2 separate regions of the Homo sapiens genome follow, and region 1 is linked to region 2. The links are contacts of gene promoters, found by promoter capture Hi-C in blood cells and fetal thymus (Javierre and others, 2016). All regions are on one chromosome and are shown on one strand. The core of a region is centred on a gene start or on the middle of the fragment in contact, and the rest is flanking DNA. Distances in the headings are between cores, read along the strand shown. Region 1 holds the start of ACVR2B (activin A receptor type 2B). Region 2 holds the start of DLEC1 (DLEC1 cilia and flagella associated protein).

Evidence for each region. Contacts are between HindIII fragments. The CHiCAGO score rates a contact against its expected background, and 5 or more counts as called.
Region 1: a contact is called between the fragment with the promoter of ACVR2B here and the fragment with the promoter of DLEC1 in region 2, in 1 of 17 cell types (fetal thymus). The highest score is 6.1, in fetal thymus.

What each region holds. Positions count from the first base shown.
Region 1 is chr3:38,452,075-38,457,092 of GRCh38, reverse strand. ACVR2B (activin A receptor type 2B) reads right to left here and starts at 3,203. Exons shown (of 11, transcript NM_001106.4): 1 at 2,719-3,203. The coding sequence starts at 2,770. ACVR2B-AS1 (ACVR2B antisense RNA 1) reads left to right here and starts at 2,273. Exons shown (of 2, transcript NR_028389.1): 1 at 2,273-2,590; 2 at 3,868-5,018. It also overlaps a transcript of XYLB not described here. RefSeq lists silencers at 1,534-1,713, 2,524-2,803, 3,224-3,343, 3,354-3,403 and enhancers at 1,349-1,933, 1,934-2,517, 3,122-3,621. The HindIII fragment of the contact is 9,112 bases long and covers 1,895-5,018 here.
Region 2 is chr3:38,036,865-38,042,249 of GRCh38, reverse strand. It overlaps DLEC1 (DLEC1 cilia and flagella associated protein), which reads right to left and starts at 3,042. Exons shown (of 37, transcript NM_007335.4): 1 at 2,614-3,042. The coding sequence starts at 3,024. RefSeq lists enhancers at 2,248-2,477, 2,768-2,977. The HindIII fragment of the contact is 3,706 bases long and covers 2,680-5,385 here.

The DNA of each region.
Region 1 (5,018 bases), core at 1,954-4,453, 410 kb before region 2:
AGCTGGGACTACAGGCGTGTGCCACCACACCCAGCTAATTTTTGTATTTTTAGTAGAGACGCATTTCACCACGTTGGCCAGGATGGTCTCGATCTCTTGACCTCGTGATCCTCCCACCTCAGCCTCCCAAAGTGCTGGGATTACTGGCATGAGCCACTGTGCCAGGCCAGTAAAATATACTATTGAAGTTCATTCCATCTCATGGAAAGAATGTGTCCCCCCAAAATTCATACAATGAAGTTCTGACCCCCAGTGTAATGGTATTTGGAGACGGGACCTTTGGGAGGTAGTGAGGGTTAGATTAAGTCATGAGGGTGGGGCCATCAGGTAATGAGAACAGGATTCACAGTCTTACAAAAAGAGGAAAACACCCCCTTGCCCCACCCCACCCCTGTCATTTGAGAATGCAGTAAGAAGGCAGATATCTGCAAGCCAGGAAGAGGGTCCTCACCAGAACCCAACCATGCCAGCACCCTGCACCCTGGGCTCAGACTTAGAGCTTCCAGAACTTTGACAATATAAATTTCTGCTGTTTAAGCCACCAGTCTACAGTATTTTGTTATGGCAGCCCCAGCTAAGACACAGCTGTTTCTTCTTCCTTTTATTAACACGACTACTAGAAAACGTTGTTTTATATCTATCCATAGTTCATACACTATTTCTGTCACACAGCACTCTTCTAGATGTTCCTTCTAGCAGGCATTGTGTGCTGCACAGTATGGGGGTTATTCCAAACAGCAAGCCAGGAGCTTGAAATTAAAGGGCATCCCTGAAGCCAAAGCAACAGGACGGTCAGGTCTGCTCCAAACTGGGCCTGGGGCAGCTCTTTTCACAGTTCTCCACAGGTCAGGGACTGGTTGATGTGACTACAAGAAATACCCAGTGACCCCCACCTTCCTCCCAGGGCAGGAATACAGGTCCTTATAGTGTGACTCTGACTGCCCCCTGGCAGGGTACACTGCTCAGCACTGCCCAAGCTAGGTGACTGAAGCAGAGGAAAAAGAAAGGACATACAGTCCTTCCAGGGGTCTGATGCCGCCCTGCCCTGCCTAAGGAGGGAGGTGTGAGACTGGTGTGATCCCCAGATCCCAGGTCTCAAGCTGTCCTGTCTTGGGAGGAAGCTCTCCTAAAGGCCTGGGCTTGGAAGAGCCCCAGCACTTCCAGGGATCAGGCACCCAGCGGGTCTGGAGGCAGTCAGGTGGGCTGCGGTCTGCCTATCAAGTCAGCTTGCTGCCGCCCTCCCTCTAGCAGACCAATGCCTCCCCTTTCACTTTCGAGCACTCCTTCTTGGGGAAAAGGCATCCCAAGGGAGCGGGGCAAAAAAGAGCAGAAAGTCCAACACGACCACCACTTCGCCTCCAAGAAGCGGCTCCAGGAGAGCTGCAACGCCCTCTTCCATACGGTACTCAGGTGCCAGCTGGTCTTTGCCCTTCGGTTTCCGGACTCAGGCTGCGCGCGCGCGCGCTACTACCCTACAGAACTCACTCGCTTTCGGTGTAAACTAAGCCTCACGACGACGCACAGGAGAAGGTAGAACCAGGGTGGGAATGGGACGCAGATCCCAAATCCCCACCCCCGCAGCAGCGTGGGGACTCCGGCCCCGCCCCTGCACGCCCGGCCCCGCCCCTCGAGGGTTTCCCAGACTCCAGGCGGCTGCCACCGAGGGCGGCGGGGGACCCGCGCTGCATGTGTAATGGGGGCTGGGAACAAAGACGCGCAGGACCCGGCGGCCGGGTACCAGCCGCCCCGACCTTCTCGCCAGAGCTTCAATGCCCAGCTCCCCACGTTTCCCAGGACTGGCCAGGGGACGTCCCGGCGCGCCCGCCGGGGTTAGGCGCACCCCGGCACCACTGAGAGAGGGAAATCGGTGCTTGGACCGTAGGAGAAACAAGCTTTCCAGGCGGAACTCCGCTTGTTTACGCCCGCGCCCACATACCCCCAAACACACATGCGCTGGCCGAACACCTCCAGCCACACGCCCGCAGCCGCGGGCGAGCTGAGCGCTGGTCACCCACCCCGCCACGTGCCTCCTGGAGGCCCGAAGGAAGAGGGACCTGTTGGGTTTTCCATCTTACCCACCCCCTCCCCTCCCAAGTGCCCAAACAAAGCGGTCCCGCGAAGCGACCACACTCCGCATCCCGGGGCCAACGGCAGGGAAAGAGGGAGCAGGTGGGAGCCAGCACCAACAGCCCGCCGGGCCGGTAACGCGACGCAGACTGGTGGCAAGAGATGCAGGGGACTTTGGGCTGCGTGAAGCCGCCCCCTTCGCTTCGCTACACTTAGTGACTCTGAGGGACATGCAACCCTCCCCGCATGCTGCTGCTGCTGCTGCACCTACAATCCTGCCACCCCCAATGAGATCTGCCCACCCCTCTTGGCCGCCTTCCCCACGCTCAGGTTTTCCTCACTCTTTCCCTGGGTTCCACGCGCCCGCGTAGCCCGAACTCCGACCCTGAGGCTCCGCGTCCCGGCCCCCATCGCAGGGGCGCCTCTAGGAACCAGAATCCCGCAGATGACTGCACAGACAAGATCGTGCCCCCAAGTTCGGCGAGCCGGGCGCCCACCGCGCCCCCAGCCCACGCCCCCGGAGGTGAGGGCTGAATACAGGTGGTGCGGCGACGAGGCCCCGGGCCCGCCCTTTGTTGGTAAACACCGCGCGGCGCCAGAGGCCAGCCCCGCGCGCCCTCTCGGCGTCCCCGCGCCGCGCCCAGTTCTTACCGGCGCACAGCGATCCCCAGAGGAGGGCGAGGGCCACCCAGGGCGCCGTCATGTTCCGCGGCGCCGCCCCGCGCACACCCGGAGCCCGCGGGCAGGGCCGCACGGCGCTCCCGGGGCGCGCAGGGCCAGGCGGCGGCTGCGCTCTCCTTCCCGCTCCTTCCTTCGGTCTCGTTCCCTGCGCGCTTCCTGCGCCTTCGTCCCCGAGCAGCGTTCGGGCTCCAAGGGCCGGTCGGCGGGGCCGGGCTCAGGGCCGCTGCGGGCGGCGCAGGCTGCGGCCCGGGCTCCGGGGCGACGCGGGGGCCGGGGGGCGGCGGCGGGGCACGGGCCGGGGCGCGCCCGACTCAGGCATAGCGCGGCGGGGCTGGGCCCGGGCCCCGGGCGCAGGGGCCGAGTCCGGAGGGGCCATGAACGGGGGGAGGGGTGGGGGGGAGGGGAGCTGAACCGAGTCCAAAATGGCTCCTGAGCGGCGGCCACGGAGCCGAGCCAGCGGGGAAACCCGGATGTTGGATACAAAGAGGCGGGCGGGCTGGGCGGGGAGGGGGAGGGGAGGCGGGCCCTCCGGCCGCGTGGTCCGCGCCCCCCTGAGGGGCGGGGCCCCAGAGAAACAACAACACGGAGGCCCCGCCCCCATCCCGCGCCCTGTGGGAGGACGCGCGTGCACCAACTTGCTGGAGGACAGGGCGGGGCGCGCGGACGGAGGTGGCGGGAATGGGCTCCTGACCACTTTGCCCGGGAGCCTGTGGCCACTGCACTCGCAATTAGTGCCCCGCACGCTCGAGCCCAAGCTCCTGACACATGCTGCCCTACAACCCCGGAATGAGTGGATAGTCCCGGGACTCTGGCCCAGACGCCTCTGTGCCTTGGATTCCCCACCTGTGCAATGGGGGTGACAGTGAACCGTGGGAAAGTCGGATCTCTACTGATGGGCGAATTAAGTGGCAGAAAGAGGCTGACTTCCCTGAATTGACAAGCAGTCTCCCGTCTGCAATCCCTTGCCACACACTCAAAGGCACAGCTAGGGCGGGGAGTGGTCATTTAAACCCAACCAAGTGAGGGAGCGGGCAGAGTCCCGCCCCTCTAAGCCCAGCAGGTGGAAAAGGGCCTCTGGCAACCTGCTGGCCCTCCCTAATCCTATCTTGTCTTCTGCAGTTCCTGCGCCACCCACAGCGGCCCTGAGCTTCAATCTGCACTTTCAAAACTTCCCAGTTGCCTCCAGAGCCCTGCAGTTGAAGATCTTGTCTAGCACATGGTTTTGCTGTTTTCCTCACCCCGAACTCCCTCCTTGGAGGGCCATCGTTCTCTGTCTCAGATTCCACCCTCCTTATCACACAACTAGAGCTTCGGAGGAACGTGATGGGGCTCCCAACTAAGGAGGGAAAGACCATCATAGCTCAGGGATGAGGCTCCGAGATCCTCAGATAACATTAATTGTCCTCTGTCTTCTCTTGACTTGGCACATCCTTGCTTGGAGCAGGGCAGGAGCAGCTGAAAGGGAGGTGGCACCTGGAGGTCTCAGTCATTTCACTTCTCTGAGCCTCAGTTTTCCCATATGCAAAGTGAAGAGGTACACTCCCTCAGGGTTTTGCATCTTCTTAATGGCAGAAACCTAGTCAAACAAAATATTATGTAAATGTTCACTATAGGCAGGGCGAGGTGGCTCAAACCTGTAATTCCAGCACTTTTAGAGGCCCAGGAGGCTCTTGAGGTCAGGAGTTCGAGACCAGCCTGACCAACATGGCAAAAACCTGTCTCTACTAAATAATACAAAAATTAGCTGGGCATGGTGACACACACCTGTAATTCCAACTACTCGGTAGGAGGCTGAGGCAGGAGAATCGCTTGAACACAGGAGGGAGGCGGAGGTTGCAGTGAGCTGAGATTGCACCACTGCACTCCATCCTAGGTGACAGAGTGAGACTCTCTCTCAAAAAAAAAACAAGTTTATAAAGGAATGTATATTGTTCTGATTGACATTGAAATAGGGTCAACTACCCCCGGTCACCAGAGCAGCAGGAACACCTCAGGGGCCACACTTTGGAGGCACTGCCCAGAAAGATTTCTGGGTCTTTAAAAGTCCCTTCCAGTCCTGGGAAATTCTATGTGAAAATGATGGTCCCTGCTTGCTATAATCCCTACAGGTGACTTATTATCTAAGCCATTTAACACAGGATTGAATACTATGCGACTGTGTGCCAAGCAAGAAGCAGTGTTGTATGGGACACCCTAGCTGTGTATAAGGTATCTGGTAATAACACAGGAGGCCACAGTGATAGACTGTGATAACGGAAGTAATTCCATAT
Region 2 (5,385 bases), core at 1,793-4,292:
ATGCTGAGGCGGGCAGATCACTTGAGGTCAGGAGTTGGAGACCAGCCTGGCCAACATGGTGAAACCCCATCTCTACTAAAAATACAAAAATTAGCCAGGCATGGTGGTGCATGTCTGTAATCCCAGCTACTCAGGAGGCTGAGGCAGGAGAATCGCTTGAACCCAGGAGACGGAAGTTGTAGTGAGCCAAGATCGTGGCACTGCACTCCAGACTGGGCAACAGAGCGAGACTCTGCCTCAAAAAAATAAATAAATAAATAAATGGCAGCTGTGTTTGTCTACAATGCAGGTATAATTCATTCTTTTTAACAACTTTGTAGTATTCCATAGTGTGAATATACCATAATTTATAAAGTCAACTTATCTTTGCATAGTTGTATTTCTTTTTTTTTTTTTTTTTTTGAAACGGAGTCTCGTTCTGTCGCCCAGGCTGGAGTGCAGTGGTGCAGTCTTGGCTCATTGCAACCTCCGCCTCCTGGGTTCATGCAATTCTCCTGTCTCAGCCTCCCGAGTACCTGGGATTACAGTCACACACCACCACGCCCGGCTAATTTTTGGTATTTTTAGTACAGACAGGGTTTCACTATGTTGGTCAGACTGGACTCAAACTTCTGACCTCGTGATCTGCCCGCCTCGGCCTCCCAAAGTGCTGGGATTATAGGCGTGAGCCACCACGCCCGGCCGCATAGTTGTATTTCTATAGGGGATCACTCTTTAAACTTTTCTGCATTCTGAAATTTCTGCAATTTTAAAACTTCAAATGTTTAAATTAAATTTCAGCTTCTAAATTAAGATTTTTATAATGTGGGCCAGGCACAGTGGCTCACACCTGTAATACCGGCATCTGGAGAGGCTGAGGTGGAAGGATCAATTGAGGCCAGAAATTTGAGACCAGCCTGGGCAACATAGTGGGACCCCATCTCACAATTTTTAAAAAATAAAAATTTAGGCCAGATGTGGTGGCTCATGCCTGTAATCCCAACACTTTGGGAGGCCAAGGTGGGCAGATCACGAGGTCAGGAGATCGAGACCATCCTGGCTAACACAGTGAAACCCTGTCTCTACTAAAAATACAAAAAAATTAGCCAGGTGTGGTGGCAGGCGCCAGCTACTCAGAAGGCTGAGGCAGGAGAATGGCATGAATGTGGGAGGTGGAGCTTGCAGTGAGCTGAGATTGCGCCATGCACTCCAGCCTGGGTGACAGAGTGAGACTCCATCTCAAATAAATAAATAAATAAATAAATAAGCTGGGCATACTGGTGCACACCTGTGGTCCTAGCTACTCCAGATGCTGAGGAGGGAGGATCAGTTGAGCCCCTGATGTTAAGGCTGCAGTGAGCTGTGATCACATCACTGCACTCCAGCCTGGGCAACAGAGCCAGACTCTGTCAAAAAAAAAAATTTGTAATATGTATTACTTTTTTTCTTCAAAAAAAGGGATCACTATTTGCCAATTCAGACTCTGGTATAGTGGCTACTTATGGGACAGATACTGAGAAGATAGAATCCAGTGAACTGGGTGACTGGTCATGGGGTTTATAGGTTTATAATGCTCCATATATTCTGGCTCATGTGAATGACAGGGATGTGAGTCTGAAGTTCAAGGGCAAGGTCTGGCTGGGTAGGCTGAAGTCTTAGCAGAGTGAATGTGGTGACCCACGAATCACAGAGTACAGGATCCCAGCCAGGGGCTCTGGCTGCACTTTAAGAAGCCTATAACCCGTGGAGGCGGCGAGACTGGTCCTGTAAGTATCTCACATACTGTATAGGTATTCATTTTGTTAATGTCTATCTACCTCAGTTAGGTTGAAAGCTACAGAGGACAGGTTGCGTGTGTGAGTGTGGGTGTGCCCGAACACTGGCGTTTTTATTCACTGCTGAATCCCCACTGCCTAGAACAGAGTATGACACCCAGCAGACATTCAACAAATGTGTTAAGTGAAGGAATGACTGAAGCTAACGACGTGGGATGCATGTCACTTAAGGGGCAGGTAGAGGACAGAACAGAAAGGAGAAGAAGAAGATCTGAGAGGCAGGAAGCACACCGGGGTAAAGGATCGGGTATGGGAGGAGTGCCCACAAGTTTAAGGGAGTCTTCAGTAGTGTGGCCAGCAGAGGCCGACTCAGCACAGAGGCCGCGAGTCAGCTGGTTTTCTCCTTGTACAGATGAGGAAGCAGAGTTGCTGTTCTAGAGGCTAGACACGCTTCCTAAAATCTGCGCATGAATGGCCCAGTCAAGATTGTGGTTTGTGATACAAAGGCACCCCAAAGCCGGGTGACTTTTGGCTTTATCCTCTCCATGGAACAACTATTCAGCGGTCTGCCGCAGTCGTTCATTGATATATGCAATATATAACGTATGTGTCTAGAGAAATATAGACAGGTGCTACAGATATATGCCGCACGTTGTGTGGTATGTGTGGTATTTGCGCATGTGTGTGTATGGATAGAGCGTCCTTCCACTAGAATGTCGGGCCCACTTCGGCATGATGGGCTGTTTCTCAACTGCAGCCCCAGATCCTGGAACAGCGCCTGGCACCTGGCAGGTGCTGACGCGTGCCGAGCGCTGAGACCCCGGCACCGTCCGCAGACGCGACGCCACCGCCACGTTACCTGCTGCAGCTGGTCCACGAACTCCTCGTGGCGCTCATTCTCGCTGCCGCGGGCCTTGATCAAGCTTGCGCTCACTTCGTCGCCGATGACCTCGGCTGAGTACAAGTTGCGGAAGACGCCGGTGAGCAAGTGCGAGATATCTTGGGTGCGCAGCGAGGAGGGGCGCAGACGAAGCAGCTGAGGCTCGGGACGCTGCGCCAGCGCAAGCTGCGTGAGGCGGCGGGGCCGGGCTGCGAAGCTGTAGTGGAAGGCCTCAGAGTAGGCGAGGGAGGAATACAAGGAGGACTTCCAGGTGGGCTGGCTGGGGCTGCTGGACCCGGCTGGTGGCGAAGTTGGCGCCCACATTGTCCCCTGGCACTCGTTGGTCCGGGACGCTAAAGACCTCCGCGTTTTGGAGCTCCTGGTCTCCATGGCAACCGAGACGCCGCTAACTCCCTGCGGCACTTCGGCTTCCGGCCTCACCCCTTCCGCCTTGCCTTTCTCTCGGATCCCGTCATCGCTGTGGTCATTGTAAACATTTGTGTCTTCAGCATTGTCCTTTTAAAAGTGAGCTTACTAAGTGTGAGGACCCATGAAGAAAGGTTTAATTGACACAGCCAGGCCTATCTGCAAAACCTTGTACCTAACTACCTACCTTCATCCATTCTTTAATTTGTTAAGCAACTGTTCATTCACTCATCATATTTATTGTGTAAAGATTGTGTTTCAGGTCTGTGCTGATTGCTGAAGATACCAAAGAAGTATGATGCTGCTTCTGCCTTCAGGAAGTGCACAGTCGTGTATGTGTGTGTTTGTGATGATGGCGGTGGGTGTGGAGGTAAAAGTAAAACAACTGTACTTTAGTGGGTTAAGGCCAAGGTGGAGATAAATATTGGTTGTCATGGAACTACAAAGGAGGACAGGAACTTAGTCTGTAGAAGGAGCGATTACTTCTTGGAACAAATGAAAACCAAGCAGAGATTTCAAAGAAGGAGTAGACTGAACATCATTAGTCATCAAAGAAGTGGAAATTAAAACCACAATGCAGTACTACAGTTAGTAGAATGACAAAAAACAAAAAAGTACCTAAATAAGAGCGTGTGTGTGGTGGCTCACACCTGTAATCCCAACACTTTGGGAGGCTGAGGCACGAGGATCACTTGAAGCCAGGAGTTTGAGACCAGCCTGGGCAACATAGGGAGACCCCATCTTTACAAAATATTTAAAAATGTGGGAAGGACGGAATGAAATTCAGGAGGAGTGGAACTTAAAGAGTGTGAGGGTGGAGGAATGACACTGATAGGTTAGGGCCAGATCATAAGTGGGTTGGTAGGCCACAATAGGGAATTTGGACTTTATTTTGAGGGCAGTAGGAGGTTCATCAAGGGTCTTAAGCTGGGGCATGTCATGGTCAGCTCTGTTTTACTAAGATCATTCTGATTGCTATGAGAATAGACAGGAGAGGCAAGAGGCATCAGGAAGTTCAGTTAGGAAACTAGCACAGAAGTTAGGAAAGAGATGAAGGGAGATTGGATGAGAGAGAGGGAACTGGATTGGAGATAGATCCAAAAAGTAGAATTGATAAGACTTGCTGGTGGATAATGGGAGGTAAGAAACAGGCACCAAGAATGACTCCCAGGTATCCTGTGTGTGCAATCAGGGGGGTGATGACAGCATCACTGAGATGGAAAAGAGGACTGCATTTGTCCAGGGCAGCAGCATAACATCACATTGACTGTTGTCATTTGCACACCATGGCTTTTGCTCACAGGTGATACAACCAACCACTTTCTACTCCACACTGAGTTTGCTTGCCTTACATCCTGAAACCCACTTCCAGAGATGAGTGCTAGCATGCTTGCCCACACACCTGGGCTACTTCCACTTCTACTTCTCTTGGTTGGGCCTGGCTCTCTCTTTTGTCCTTTCCAGGACCTTTTCTGTCCTGAGAGCTGAGAAGCCAGGGCCGCCTGCCCTGGACTGTGTGCTTGAGAGGCCCATCTCTGGCTGTCCCCCGCACTCTTTCCCACAGAGTAAGAGATCACAGGGCCAAGATGATGTGCCCCGTGCCTCGCCTCCAGGCACATGGGACCCCAAAAGTATGTGCCCACATGTCCTGAGTTCATTCCAGGGCCTATGCAGGCCTCTTCTTTAAGTTTATCCTCCCAGGGCTGACTTAAAAGGGTAGCTATGGTGGGGGGAGGAGGAGGGAAGTGGAGGGAGCTTTGGCAAACAGGCATTTCTCCAATTTTCCACAAGCATGCAAGGCCCCCAGTGGTGCAGGAAGGAGCTGTGGGTAGGAAGAGGGGTGCAACAGTCTGGGGGCCTCCATTGCTCTAATGTGGCAAATGGAGCCCCAGTTGGGTGGTCTTGTCATTTAGGAGCAGTTCCGCTTGTGGAGGCTCTCTGGCCCCCTTCCCTGTTATAGGGAAGGACAGGACAATGGACTCTTGCCATTACTTTTGGCTTCTCCACCCTGCCTCTAGACAGCCTCAGAGACAGTCACAGAGTCTGACTAGCCTGGGAGAGGTCTCCCTTTGCATGACCCCTCCCCCCTCTGGCTCCAGGCTAAGGTTACCAGCAACCCTCCTGTCTCTCCAGTGGCAACAGTCCCCCCTCAGTCCTCATCTCAGCAGCCTCTGGTGCTGCTGCCCATTCCCTCCGACTGACACACTCTCTTCCCTGCCTCCCTATTTCTTCTGTGCATCACCTATCTCCACCCTCGGGTCCCTGTTCTACCAGTATCTCTCTGCTTGATAAACTGGATTCATCCCTGATTCTACCATGCCCAGC